Regions from separate parts of the Homo sapiens genome. Here region 2 is linked to region 1. The links are contacts of gene promoters, found by promoter capture Hi-C in blood cells and fetal thymus (Javierre and others, 2016). All regions are on one chromosome and are shown on one strand. The core of a region is centred on a gene start or on the middle of the fragment in contact, and the rest is flanking DNA. Distances in the headings are between cores, read along the strand shown. Region 1 holds the start of KHDRBS2 (KH RNA binding domain containing, signal transduction associated 2). Region 2 overlaps KHDRBS2 (KH RNA binding domain containing, signal transduction associated 2).

The links. Contacts are between HindIII fragments. The CHiCAGO score rates a contact against its expected background, and 5 or more counts as called.
Region 2: a fragment that was not itself captured here is called in contact with the fragment with the promoter of KHDRBS2 in region 1 in 2 of 17 cell types (erythroblasts and naive B cells); the score reaches 6.1 in erythroblasts.

Annotation. Positions count from the first base shown.
Region 1 is chr6:62,282,546-62,289,402 of GRCh38, forward strand. KHDRBS2 (KH RNA binding domain containing, signal transduction associated 2) reads right to left here and starts at 3,680. Exons shown (of 9, transcript NM_152688.4): 1 at 3,313-3,680. The coding sequence starts at 3,403. RefSeq lists a silencer at 3,540-3,629. The HindIII fragment of the contact is 7,395 bases long and covers 361-6,857 here.
Region 2 is chr6:61,820,029-61,826,680 of GRCh38, forward strand. All of the region lies in intron 6 of KHDRBS2 (KH RNA binding domain containing, signal transduction associated 2), which reads right to left. Among named protein-coding and RNA genes, the nearest start is that of KHDRBS2, 460 kb to the right of the region's middle. The HindIII fragment of the contact is 712 bases long and covers 4,111-4,822 here.

The sequences.
Region 1 (6,857 bases), core at 2,430-4,929:
GTCTGTCAGCAGACACAGAATATTTCCAGATAATATTTTCATGTATATACATTTTTGGCCTCAAACATTAATAGTAGTTCAATAGACTTAAGAACATAAATCTGTCCCCAGTACCCAAAATAAAGTATATGCCTCAAATTACATTTTAGTGCCATAAATATATTATTAATCATTAAACTAGGAAAGAATGAAAAAAGTTTCAAAAATGTGCAGCCATTGAATTTTTGTTCCGAATATACAAACATCACTTCGTTGTATCATCAGTAGCCTGAGACTTAATTAGAATTGCAAAAAAACATATACATCACTTAGTCCAACTCCTTAATTTGAGAGACAAGGAAACTGGGCCCAGGGAAAGAAAGCTTACCCAGATTCAGTTGAGGTTAAAGTGGAATTCAAATCTAGGTATCTAGATTCACAGTTTAATGCACTTCCCAGAAGCAGAAAAGATATAAATAAACTTATGTAATTTCATCTGGCAACCAAATTCAGACACTGAGTAGAACTTTAAGGATAGTCCTGAGTTTGCTGTTTTATCATATTCAAAAGCACCTACCATAACAAGTGGATAACTAAACAACATTATAATCGCAGGATGAACATTATTTTAATTATTTAAGCATATTATAAACAAACTTCAAACTACATTATTCAAGAACTCTTCTGAGTAACAATCAACTGAAATCATTCTCATTGAAAACACACAGCACAAACAAGTGAAATAAAACAAACTACAATGGACCCCCCAAAAACCCCAAATAAACATCCAACTAGTACTTTCAACCCCACAGCCTTCAATTCTACATGAAGCACTGTCAATTGAGCACTGATTTGCCTGTATCACCAATCAAAATGCAAAATAAATCATTGTGAAATCTCATTGGTTTATACTACTGCCTTTATATATATTAGCTTCCGGAAAATCATTCTGAAGAACTGAATCATCTGTATCATTTTTACTACTCACTCAGGCTTGACACTGTCTGCACAGTACTGACTGAAATGTACTTTGCACCTTCTTTCCAAATGAATATCTATGTCAGGTTTATTTACAGCCACTCCCTTCAATCAGTGCATTCTCAGGTATGAGAAATAAAATAATCTCAACCATACTCTTCTATAGAGATCTGAAACTAAGCGTGGACATCTTGGCAACTGGCCTTTGGAAAGATAATGAAAGATCTATACCATAAAATATACATTAAGATTATTGAGATTCCAAGAACAATCATCTTACACTCTTTAATTAGCACATGTAAAGAGCCCCAGGTACAGAGAGCTAATATAAAACCTATGCACCCTTTTGCATAACTCTTTAGGTACTCCAAGATTATTATAACCTCCTCCATTCTCTTTTCCTCATTCTGATTTCTCTGAAATTTGGGTAACCTCTTTGTTTCTTACTTAGATGTTTTTCTCTATTTAGGAGCTTTTCCTTCTAATTCTTTACAAAAGCAGGGCATGCTTCCCCCTGCTGGGAAAAAATCAAATTACAAGGTACATCAGAACATGTTCCTAAGTATTATATCAAGAAATCAAGTTCCTAGGAAAGATAAAATGTTAAGGAACCAAGTGCATTCTCTGACTGTTTTACCAGCCACAGAAATACTTATGCACTCTGTTAAGAGTTTCTTGTATGCATTTATTTAGCTTGGCCGTCTTCAAGTACAATAACTCATATTAATGACTGATGAATTAATCTTTGAGCCACTTGTCTCAAATAGAACTCCAATTAGCGGGTCAGAGAGAATGATCAATTTGTAACTTTTTTTTCACTTTAAAGACATATTATAAGCTACATAAAGAAAATTCTGGAAAATATATTGAAGACTATTCAAAATATATTAAAGATACTGAAGACTGGTAAGACTTGCCTTTTAAATCATTTCAAACAATCTTAAACATCTATTAACACATTATTTTGCTATTATTTTTATGTAGTTGTCTTTTTTGGGAAAGTAAAAAAAGTTCGTTTTTATTGACTTTACTTTTCCACTTTAATTTATATTTTTTTTCATTCAGTAACCAAGAAAGTAGTAGGCATAATTGTATTTCACCTTCCCACTTATCTATAAAACTAGCTTTTTCCCTGAAAACAGTTTAGTTATTTCACATGTTCCATGTTTTGAATATAAATCTTTTCCTAATTGTTTAGTATTTAAACATAGAAAAATACCTTACACTTCATTGTTAATATAAATAACAATTCATAAATTAAAAAATATAGCTAATGCCTATTTAAATCATATATTGAGGAGCAGAATTTATTCTTCCTTGGTACAACTAAGTCTCAAAAAAATCTTTTAATACTGAGGAGCTTGGGTAGAGGAAGTTATCCGTTTTAGTTTTTTGCTGTATGTAAGTCCATAACAAACTTAGCTACAAAACTGCATTGTAACCAATTTGATGATGAAGCAATTCATTATTAATGAAGCATTCATCTAAAAAAAATCTGCAGATGTTTTAAAAAGGCATGGGTAAGTAACTACAGATACCATAGGTGTCTTTAGTATTTAGATGGCATTATTATAACATAAATGGAGTAATTCGGTTAATAAAGTTCATGTGTCTTTTTTCAAAAAAAAACCTTTCAAAGCAATGCAAAAAACAAGACATATGTGTTCCTCTAGGAATGAAATCCCCTTTAACATTACAGGTACACAAAAGAAAATGCACACTTGGTAAAACAGTTGATCAATTATAGAGTGTTCCCAGGGACCAATATCTCACAGAGTACCCAATCATCACACTTCAAATAAATGTATAAGCACTTTAGCCTTTACTTACCACATTAACATACATATAAGAACATGCATAGTTTAATGCATAGGTTAATTCTAACACTTTCCATAGGATAGACTTTGATTAAAGGGTATCAAAAATCACTTCCTAAATGCAGCAAAAAATAAAAATAAAAATACCGATCTGTAGCTACGAAGCTCTTAGAACACTACATTGATCACCATTTACTTCCAAACTGCTTTCCCTTCCCTCTGCGAAGTGAAAATGTCCCTGTAGACCGCGTTACATACACTTTATGGTTTCTCTATCAATGATCCTAACAGGTCACATCGCCACTGCCATTAGATCTCCGTAGCTTTGGTCTTCTCCAAATTAAGACGTGGAGAAGGAGCACTGCTGTCCGCCCCAAGAACGGGGTCTGTCCGCCCGAGCTCTAAGGCGAGCATCTTCAGGGGGACAGTTTCTGCGAAGGCGGGGAGAGGAGTCCCTCCCCAACTTCACTCCCCTAATCAAGCCGCGGGTGAGATAGGCAGCCGGCGGTTTGTGCCCATCTGTGGGGGCAAGTCCTACCTTCTGCCAAAAGGCGCGACGCATGCACAAAAGATGGATCCAGGCTATCTTTCTCTGCCATCAGCTCAGGCAAATATTTCTCCTCTTCCATAGCGCGGACTTCGGATTGTCCCCGGGCGAAGCGCGAGGTTCCGCTCGCTCGGACGCAGGCAGGGTCTTGGGGCAGCGCCTGGCTCCCGCGCTGCTCCTCCTCCGCGCGGCGAGGGATCTCTGTGCGTCCTCACTGGCCCATGCACCCAGCACCTGCGACTCCCGCCGTCGGGCTGCGTGGCCCCGCGCCCACACCTGCCCGTCCCTTCCGTCGTCCCTCGCTCGCGCAGAGCCCCGGCTCACACCAGCGGCCTTAACTGGAGAGGCGGGAACAGGACGCGGCCCACCTCCGCCAACCACTCATTGGTGGTGGTGCCAGGAGAGGCGGGGCGCTGGCAGAAGGCCGCGGGCTCTCATTGGGCGGTAGCGCAAGTCGGGTGGCCTGACTGGCAGGAGGCAGCTGCAGAGGGGAAGGGAGCTCGGAAGATGCAAACGCTTTCTTCTTGCGCCCAAGCCTTCCCTGGCTATTAGGCATGCCCAGTTTTGTGGAGTTCTCTGTGTCTTCAGCTAAGGCGCAGAGGAGAGAGAGCGCGGGAAAAGCGCAGGTTAAAGAGAGAGGTCTGAGTACAAGTGGACAGGGGAGATGGAGATGAGAAGTGAGCCACCCGAGAGGGTGGAAAAGCGCCAGGGAAAGTCTCAGGAAGGTAGATGGGACTTCACCTGCGTCCCTAAGGCACAGGTGTCTCCTTTCCCTCACACAGCTCAGGCGCACTCCAGTTGTGCAGGAATCAGCAGCGCACTGGGTCTGGAAATACAATGAAGACTGCATGTGATCGGCAGCTGGTATTTCCGATGACCTACATCTCAGGGACGCAGTAGGATGTTCATTGATAAACAAATAAAGCGGCTCGAAGAAATATTGTGCAGAGACATGATTGAGGTGTACAATCATTAGGATATTGAATTAGTTCTGGTAACCTATCCGTGCCTCCTTTCCCCAGACCCTATCTGTGGAAGGGAGGTTGGGAGGGGCTGAATTTAAAAACCAAAAACAATATGATTCATTAGTCACAGTTTGTGAAAGAATTGGGAAGACATGTAGAAGAAAGAAGAGACTAGAAAATAGGTAACCACGTTTGCTCTAATTTTCCCCTTTCTCCTAGTTTTAGATGTGCCAGTCTCTTTCACCAGGTACTGTTGCTGAGCTACTTTGTATTATCCCACCTCTATTTAAAGGAAAGTTAAACCCTCATGATATCACCAAGCGTGGAGGCAAAGCCCATCCTTCTTTTACCAATGCGGCTATAAAATGTAACTTGCATGCCTCAATCGCTAGGAAACAATCTTTCCCCAAGTCTTGGGTTCTCGTTTCATAAGTAGTCATTTCCTGATTCTTCTCTCCCCCATTATTTTTGGTGTGGAAGAATGAGGGCCAACTTTGCTACAAATAAAATGTGCTGAAATTTTTCCAACTTATCTTACTGTATTTAAATATTTTCCTTTTAATTTTTAGATAAATTCGGGAGATTAACTTTTATTTGTATAATGTTTAAATAACGTAACGTGCCTCACATTGATTATTTCAATACGTCCTCACAGAAGCACTCTGAAAAATGCCAGCCAAGTATTACTTTCTCTGTTTGTATAAATATGGAAACTGAGGCAAAACAGAGAAATCGTCTCATGTCTAGTTAATGCTGAAGTTGAGATTAAAATTCAATTCTATATTAGCACCATTTATATCCAGAATATACTGCTTCAACCTACCTTTCTGTGTGTTATATATTTAATTTATTTGTGCATGTGTGCATTCAACAAATGTTTATTGGATACTGAAAAGAGTCTAGGGACAGTACTTAAAATTGGAGAAACATTGGTGAATAAGATACATACACATTCATTCCTTGTCATCACAAAGATGTTTTCTAATGGGAGAAGATAAATAAAACCAAGTATACAAGAGGAATGGTAATTGTTGACTGCAATAAAGGTCAAGAATGAACCAAGGAGTTAAGAAAGAGAATACAAGGGAAGACATTAGTTTCTTTATTTTTGACTAGGGTAAACATACAATCTCGATAAGCAGCTGATATTTACGGTGAAAACTCATGGAAAAGAATGAACCAAGTGAGTACAATGTGCAAAGAAAGACATTCCAAGCAGGGGAACTTGCCCCTGAAAAAGCCCTGTGGTGGAAAGAACTGTGCTGTCTTTTGGAATTGACTGAGGTCAATGTGACTACTGTAATATGGGAAAGAATGGAATCAATAAGGGAGGGGGGATTGATGTGTACAAACACTGAAGATTTGATGAATGAAAATTATTTGGATTTTATTCTAAGTGTAATAGGGGACCATAAAGTATTGGTATCTTTCTGGATGTGCTTCTTAATCTCTTTCTGATTCTTATGTTACTTTCAAAGGAGCTATTATTTAGAATTGAGTATATATACAGAAAGTTCTTGCTATTTTATCTGTGTGCAGAATGTTTAGTAGTTGAAGGGTCATGCATCCTGCACCTGGTCTGCAACAGGGATATAAAGGGAAAATATGCTTCAAACTTAAAAGAGGTGGCTACGATTTGCTATGGTAGTAAAGGGTGAATACGATGCCAACCACAGGCAAAAAACTGTAAATGTTTTCGAATAAATGTAAATTAGAACAAAATATTTTACAATTACAATAACATTTTGCTTTGCAGCATATCAAGACATTAAAAGCATATGGTGAGGATGGAGACGTGCAGAAACCCAGTTTCATGAATGAAGAAGGTGTAGTAACTCTTATAATGTCCAGCAACAACAACTACTTTATTATTCACAGCCATCTTTTCCATGATTACAGGATTAATAAGAAGATACCACAGCGAGCTGTCCAAGTGCTGACTTTATTATACAATGTCTTCAAGTCATTATAAATACAGTCAAGTTAATATTTTCTAGTTATTATCAAAACTAAAGATTTATTATTTGTAGTTCTTCAGGTAATCCCTCATCAAATGCCTAAAATGTATTCTAACAAAGCAATATATTTATGCAACTTAAAAAATCAAAAGAAAATAAACTCTAACATAATCTTTAGAAAAGTTTGTGTACTTACTACATGATGGACATTGTAAAATAAAGATATATAAGTATATTGACCCTTAAAAATCAATATGCTTCAGAATTATCTCACAAAATGTTGCCTATTTTTAAACAGAATATGACTAAATAAAGGCAAACACCAAGGGCCCTACATATACACTCATCCAGCATCAGATCCACGTGTTTTCAATAGATGGCTCTGTGTTACTGCATGTTCTCCATTTATTTCACATGCAAATATTTTACAGGTACAACATTATCCTTTAATATTCTCAGAGAAACCTTGAAAATGCAAACATTTTATAAACATAAATGTAAACAGAAAAACTTTAAAAAATGATTGTTGAATATAGAATATTTTGTGTCTACCCTTGAATAAATTATAACTGCTGTTTAACCCACCTCTTCTAATGATATGAATAACCTAAAT
Region 2 (6,652 bases), core at 3,217-5,716, 460 kb before region 1:
AAACTAGAAAGTGGTAAAGCCAAGATGCAAGCCTGGGCAGTCTGTTTCAAGAACCTTGCTCTCAATATGCACAAAGCCACTTGTCTGAGCCAGAAAGAAAGTTAATGGAGATGCTAGCAAGTAGCTTTGGTCAGTTGTGAAAAGAGTTGTGGTTAACTTTTTCAAATTACCATGGGATGACATTGAAGATCCATTAGATGACACTAGAAGACTTTCATGAGATTCTAGTTGAGGGATGATGATGGCTCAGATCAGACCACACCATGGATGGGGACATTCAGGATGCGTTTTGTAAGTGTAACCAAAATCACTTCTTGATGGATTTGATTTGGGAGGTGAGAAAATAGAGAAACATAGAATGAAATATAAGATTTTGGGCTTGAGCAGTGGGTGAATAGAGATATTATAGAGAAGATGAAGAATATTCAAGAAAAGATAGGTTTGACAGGGCCTGAGGTTATAGAACAGAAATTATATTTTGGCTATTTTAAGCAGTTAGTCAGATTAACAAATTCAGATCTTAGGGAGAGTTTACTTCTGGAAAATCAATTTAGAATTGATGAAATATAAACTAATTAGAGGGTCAAACCAATCCCTGCTTCCTGTCAGGAATAATTTTTGCTCATAGGTGTTTTCTGGAAGTCACATTTGTATTCCTGTTTTAATGTAAATTTGCAGACTACAGACATACACAATCCATTTATGCAGAAGGGATCTCATTTGCTGGCAGATTTCTTATGGTCTTCTCCATGCATGTGGGACACATTTAGTCAAACTATTTATTAGGTCTGTGGTTTTTAATAACAGGTTATTTTGGAGATAAATTGAATGGTAGTAAACAACAGATAATTGAGAGAATCAATGTGCTACCTGGATAGCCATATACGTGTGGCACCCTTTCCTTTTATGTTTCTTACATCTACTCTAATGGGGCTGACTAAATTCCTACTGACTGTGTGAGGAGAATTTCACTCAGAATTGGGAAATCTGTATCGAATGACTATGTAAGCTGAATGAATTGAGATTTAAACCTGTTTGTCTATTATTTTTTCCCTTGGTTCCATAAGATTAAGCATTATTAGAGATATCTATGTTTCCTCATCAATTAAACAACTGCACCCCTCAGGAACCTGAATACTTGACTTTCAACTCTCTCTTACTTTAGAGGTTTTCAAAATGTAGCTTGTGGACCACCTCTGTTAGAATCTACTGGGGTGCTATTTAAACAATATAAAAACCTGGGTCCTACTAGCAAGACATCTTACATCAGGAAGTGTAGATTAGGGTTTGCAACATTGCATTTTAGTAAACTTTCAAGATAATTTTTATATTTGCTAAAATTTAAGGATTGCTTTAATGTCCTCTGTAGAACTTGTGTAATTGCACTGCATCATTAGTGGACACAGGATATGAGTGAGGACTCAGCTGGATCTATGTGGAAACATTTTAATGCTAATGCACAGGTATCAATGACTTAAAATGCTGAGAGCGTATAAAAGGTAAGATGACACTTCTAAGATCAACTATCTGAATTGAAGATGAAAGTTCTGTTGGCAAGCAGACTCTTTCTATCTTTCCTTGGCTATGTTCCCACTACGCATCTGCAGGTTGCTAGAGTGATGAGTGTTGGAGACTCATTTTACTGCTGCAATAAAGTTTTTTTTTCCACTTATAAGCCTTGGAAACTATGAATTTATTTTAGCTAGGTTTTAGATGTCCTATGGATTGCTTCCATTTTTAGTGGGTGTCACATTGTTAAGATTTTTTTTTCCATTAGAGACCAATGACTGGTATTTCTGTTAGAGTAAGAATTCAACATAGTACAGATTATATAGGTGTCTGAAGTTGTTTAAGGCTTGAACCTACTAGTATGCACACTCCAGATAAAAATGTCTTCATTTATGTAGTCAGAAGACATAGTTGACCCATTGTGTCAAATTTTCTAAAGAATTTTCATGAATTCCCTTGAATGTGTTTATTTGAGATTCTTCCATTTTCTCTTTTCTTAAAATACTCTCAGAAACAAAATTACCTGATTCATTTCAATGACTTCCATAGCCATCTCTAGGGATAAACACCAGGTGTATGGTTCCAAACCAACTTTTTCTGATAAACTTTAGACCTGTATTGCCCACTGCCAATTAGTTATCTTTTCTAGGCTAACCTATAGGTACCTCCAAATCAGTCTATCGAAAACGAAGTTCATCTTCTTTTCCCAAATTGTTTCTTCATCCTACTGTAGCCTATCCCAGCAAATTATGTCGACATTTACCCAGTTTTCCAAGTCAAGAAGACTGAACACTCTAACCTCCTCCCTTTGTATATCCAGTTAATCACTGAGTCCTGTTAACTTTATTCTCTAAATATTTCATGAATCTCTTGACTTTTCCTCAACTCCAGTACCTTCAGCCTTGTATTAGATCGCCATTTTCTATCATCTTCATCAGTGCTTCAATGTTCTAATGTGGTTTCCTTTTCAATCTTCTACTCTTCTCACTAATTCTCCACAAAACTCAGGTCTCATTCTAGCATACTTAAAAATCTTCTCATGGTTTTCCATGATTCTTAGGATGAAGTCTAACTTCTTAAATCACCCTAAAATTTTTCTTATTTATTTATGTGGCCCTAGCTTAACTCTCCAGCTAACCTATTTCTATTCCCTACTCTAGGCTTTTGTGTTCAGTTCTCTGCACTATGTCAGCAATGTAGTCTTACAAACAAGCTCTCTCCTTCTCAGACTCTATCTTCATTCTCTAAGCTGTGACATGGGCTATAACCTCAACTAAATACTCTCTCACATCCCCTCAGAAGAGATCAGTGTCTCTTTTCTCTGTACCCATGATAAGTCATATTATTTCTACTACAATCCTTGAAACAGTGTATCATAATTAGCTCTCTGATTTGTAACTCTATATTCCACCAGTTGGTCATCTCCATAAGGACAGGCACCATTCCTATGTGGGTAGTTTTTTTTTACTATTAAATCTCCAGTGTCTGACACAATGCCTAGGTTAACATATATATGCTAAATGATGCATGATGGGGTCATTCTAGCTGATAGGTGTTGGTTGCTGGGTTTTACTGAGTTAAAGTAAATTCTATGTTTCTGACTAGACTCAGTTGCAAAGGGGCCATGAGAATGCTTTAATATTCCACCACAACCAAGGAAGGAGGGTTGGGGAGACATACATAACACATTGCTGACATCTCTTAGTTCTCACTAAAGGTTTTCCCCAGATCATCAGTGAGGAAAAATTCAGTTTATATTGGAACCCTATAAAAAGTTGTATATAATTTTTGATATTAAGCTAAAACCAAATACATTTTCTGATAAAGCATGTGTATTCAGTCTTTTGCAGAATATCATTGCTATTCTTTACACAAATTTTATGTAAAGAAGTCCTCTCTTTATATAAAAAGATTGCAGAGATTGGGAAGAATTTATCTGATGGTTAAAGACATAGTCTAATGTGCCAAGTGAGCAAGTTCAGAAATAGAATATTTCTTCCAGGATATTGTCTTAGTATGCGATATTTCTCTCAGAACATGATACTCATTATAACAAATCAGTTCATTTTATGATTATCCTCATCAGTGAGGTAATTGCTTCAAAATGGTTTTCCATTATCTATTGCTTTTCCTGAATGTTGGGATGTATTGACGAATTGTTGCTTCCTTGTAACATACATTTTATCTTCTGAGTATGTCGATTTAAGATGACCTTGTACCTGAAGTAAAGGTTGTTCAAATTTACAGTTTTCAAAAATGTGTGGCTACTCAAAATTTGCAGATTATAAAATTAAAACTGAGAAATCAAAAACCAGTAAAACATGTATATGAGTCTCTTAATGAAGAAATAATGTCTGAAATAACATGCTCCAAAATGTGAGATCCAAGTTAAATCATGTAGAAATATTAACAATCAATTCTTTTTTAATTTGGTGACACAAAAACCAAACAGAAAATATTTACTTTTATCTTCAGAGTTTTCCCAAAAGAAAATTTTTTAATTTTAATAATACAAGATATGCATGACTTTAAAAGTTCAAAGAGTATTGTCAGAGCACTAAGCAGTTGTGTTTACAATAAACAAAGCTCTGAATCTGGTAAAGCTTATGCTCCAATTTTTATTCATCTTGTCTAGTCAAATGATATGGTTTGGCTCTGTTCCCACCCAAATCTCATGTCAAACTGTGATCCTGAGTGTTGGAGGGCCTGGTGGGAGGTGAATGGATCATGAAGGTGTTTTTCTAATGGTTTTGAACCATCCCCCTTGTGCTGTCTCGTGATAGAGTTCTCACAAAATGGGGTTGTTTGAAAGCGTGTAGCACTCCCCCTTCATGCTCTCTCTCTCTCTCCTGCTGCCATGTGAAGATGTGCTTGCTTCCCCTCAGCCTTCTGCCATGATTGTAAGTTTCCTAAGGCCTCCCAGCCATGCTTCTTGTTAAGCCTGTGGAACTGTGAGTCAATTAACCCTCCTGTCTTCATAAACTACCGAGTCTCGGGTAGTTCTTTATAGCAGTGTAATGGACTAAGACATCAACATCTGTTGAAAGTGCAGGATTCTACTTTGCCCTAAAATTGGAACATGGAAAAACATGCATTTTAGAATTTCCACTTTCAAATGCCTCAGGAAATTTAAGATACTTTGAAAATTTCATATAACATACATAACTAGGGAGGCTTTAAGTTTTATTAATATGACATTAAATCATTTCTGTTTGTTATAGATAACAGTATAATATGGTCAAATTCAGTTGTTAAATTGATTGTCTGCAAATACCTGCTTATGCACAATATTTAAATATTTACCAGAAATCTAAGCTTCCTAAAAATCAAATTTACTACACATTTTAAAAACAAGAGTAGTACATTAATCATAGTCATGTCATTCAAATGGCTAATTGTCCACATTGCCAAATATTCACCAGTATTAAAACTGGGAAAATTCCTATGCTATAGGTTATTAAAATCTATCATTTCACAATTCTTATCTGGAAAATTTTCAGAGATACAGACCTTTTTATCACAAAGTTAATCTTCATTTTAATATTTATGTTATTTTAGCTGAAATCAAGGAGGAAATTATTTCATTAGACAAAAGCATGTAGAAAAAGAATATATAGTCTGAAAATGAAACTAATTTATGCTAAAACAGTATTTCTATAAAATGTCATTGCAGCCTTTAAAAATTATGTTTTTCAAAGAATTGTCATCTGACAAAGTGCACATTTTCTTTCTTGTGAAATGAAATGAATTATCAATTTAAAATAGTGTTTCCATAGGCAAAACATATTCTGAGTCCTTGGGATTGATGGTGTAAATGCTGAATTTGCTCACATAAATAGCTGCCATAATTCTGCATCTAATCATGCTTAATCCTCTAATATACCTCTAAATTTCTAGCTCTGACAAATAGCACGCCAACCTATGTGTACTTACACCAAAATTATCCTAAATATTTTTTGTAGTTAGTTTGATTTTGAGTAGAAAATGCATTTCTTCTTTAAAGGTCTTAAAAGTAAATGAACGCAGTTAAGAGGGTTGTAAAAATTCATCTAAGAAAAATCATTCCTTTTGATCTGTTGACATAGTTACCGTTTAAAATTTATATGTGCTTGTGGTCATGCAACAAGTCCCCCATAAGGGTGTGGCACATTATAATGGCTAGGAACACAGACACTGCAGCCCAAGAATCTGGGTTCAGATGGTAGCTCCACCATCTGTTGTCTATGTGGGCTAGGGAAAGCGACTTTACCTCTTTGAGTCTTGGTGTCCTCGTGTACTCAATGGGGATGATGAGAATAGAACCTAGTTCACATCACTGTATGAGGATTAAATTAAATAAGTCAATATTTAAAAAATTTTTAGAGCAGTACCTGCCACATACTAAGCATTGTAAAACTGATGGTTAAATAACTTTGTAAGAAGCAGTGCTAGATTCGGATGCCAACACTTGGATGATTTCTCTGTCTTGGAGGGACAGGACATTCTTAACCTGACAACATAGATGTAAAAATACTTCTGGGTTGCAAATAATCAAAGAAGGAGTTTTCCAAATATTTTATTTTTCCCCTAAATTATTTTAGTCCTTGGACCTGGTCTTCATGTAAAGAACTGTGGCATTTTTTAGGGGTTTTATGGGCATATTTTAGGTTTTGCTTCCCATAGTTAAAATTTGTCTCATCCACTCTTCTCTGTACACCAGGAGACCTCTCTAGACTGCTCTGTTAAGACACCCAAGCTCTCTTAACACCTGGCTTTCTCCTATGTTAAGCCAGGAGCAGGCACTGGCAAGAAATCAGAGGGAAGGAAGGGAAAAAGATGAGGATGTATATCTCCCTCTGCCACATCTGCTCTCTTCTGATGGGCCAAGGTTTGACAGTGGCTCCTGTCTGATAGCCAGTCTCTCATGGTGGCTGCTTTTACAGATTTCTTAACATTGCCTCCTGCTTGCCCTTTCAGAGAAGGGGTTTTAAAGCTTCCTGCTGTTACTGGCTTCTGGCTACTTCACCATCCCTAGTTGAAATGGACCCTTTGTTGAGCTCTTTTCATTTACCCCAGTGAGTGTGTCATCTGGTCGATGCTAGCAACCTGCCCCATACAGGTAGTATTCGTTAATTAGTTATAAATTTGACCTTTTTGGCCTCTA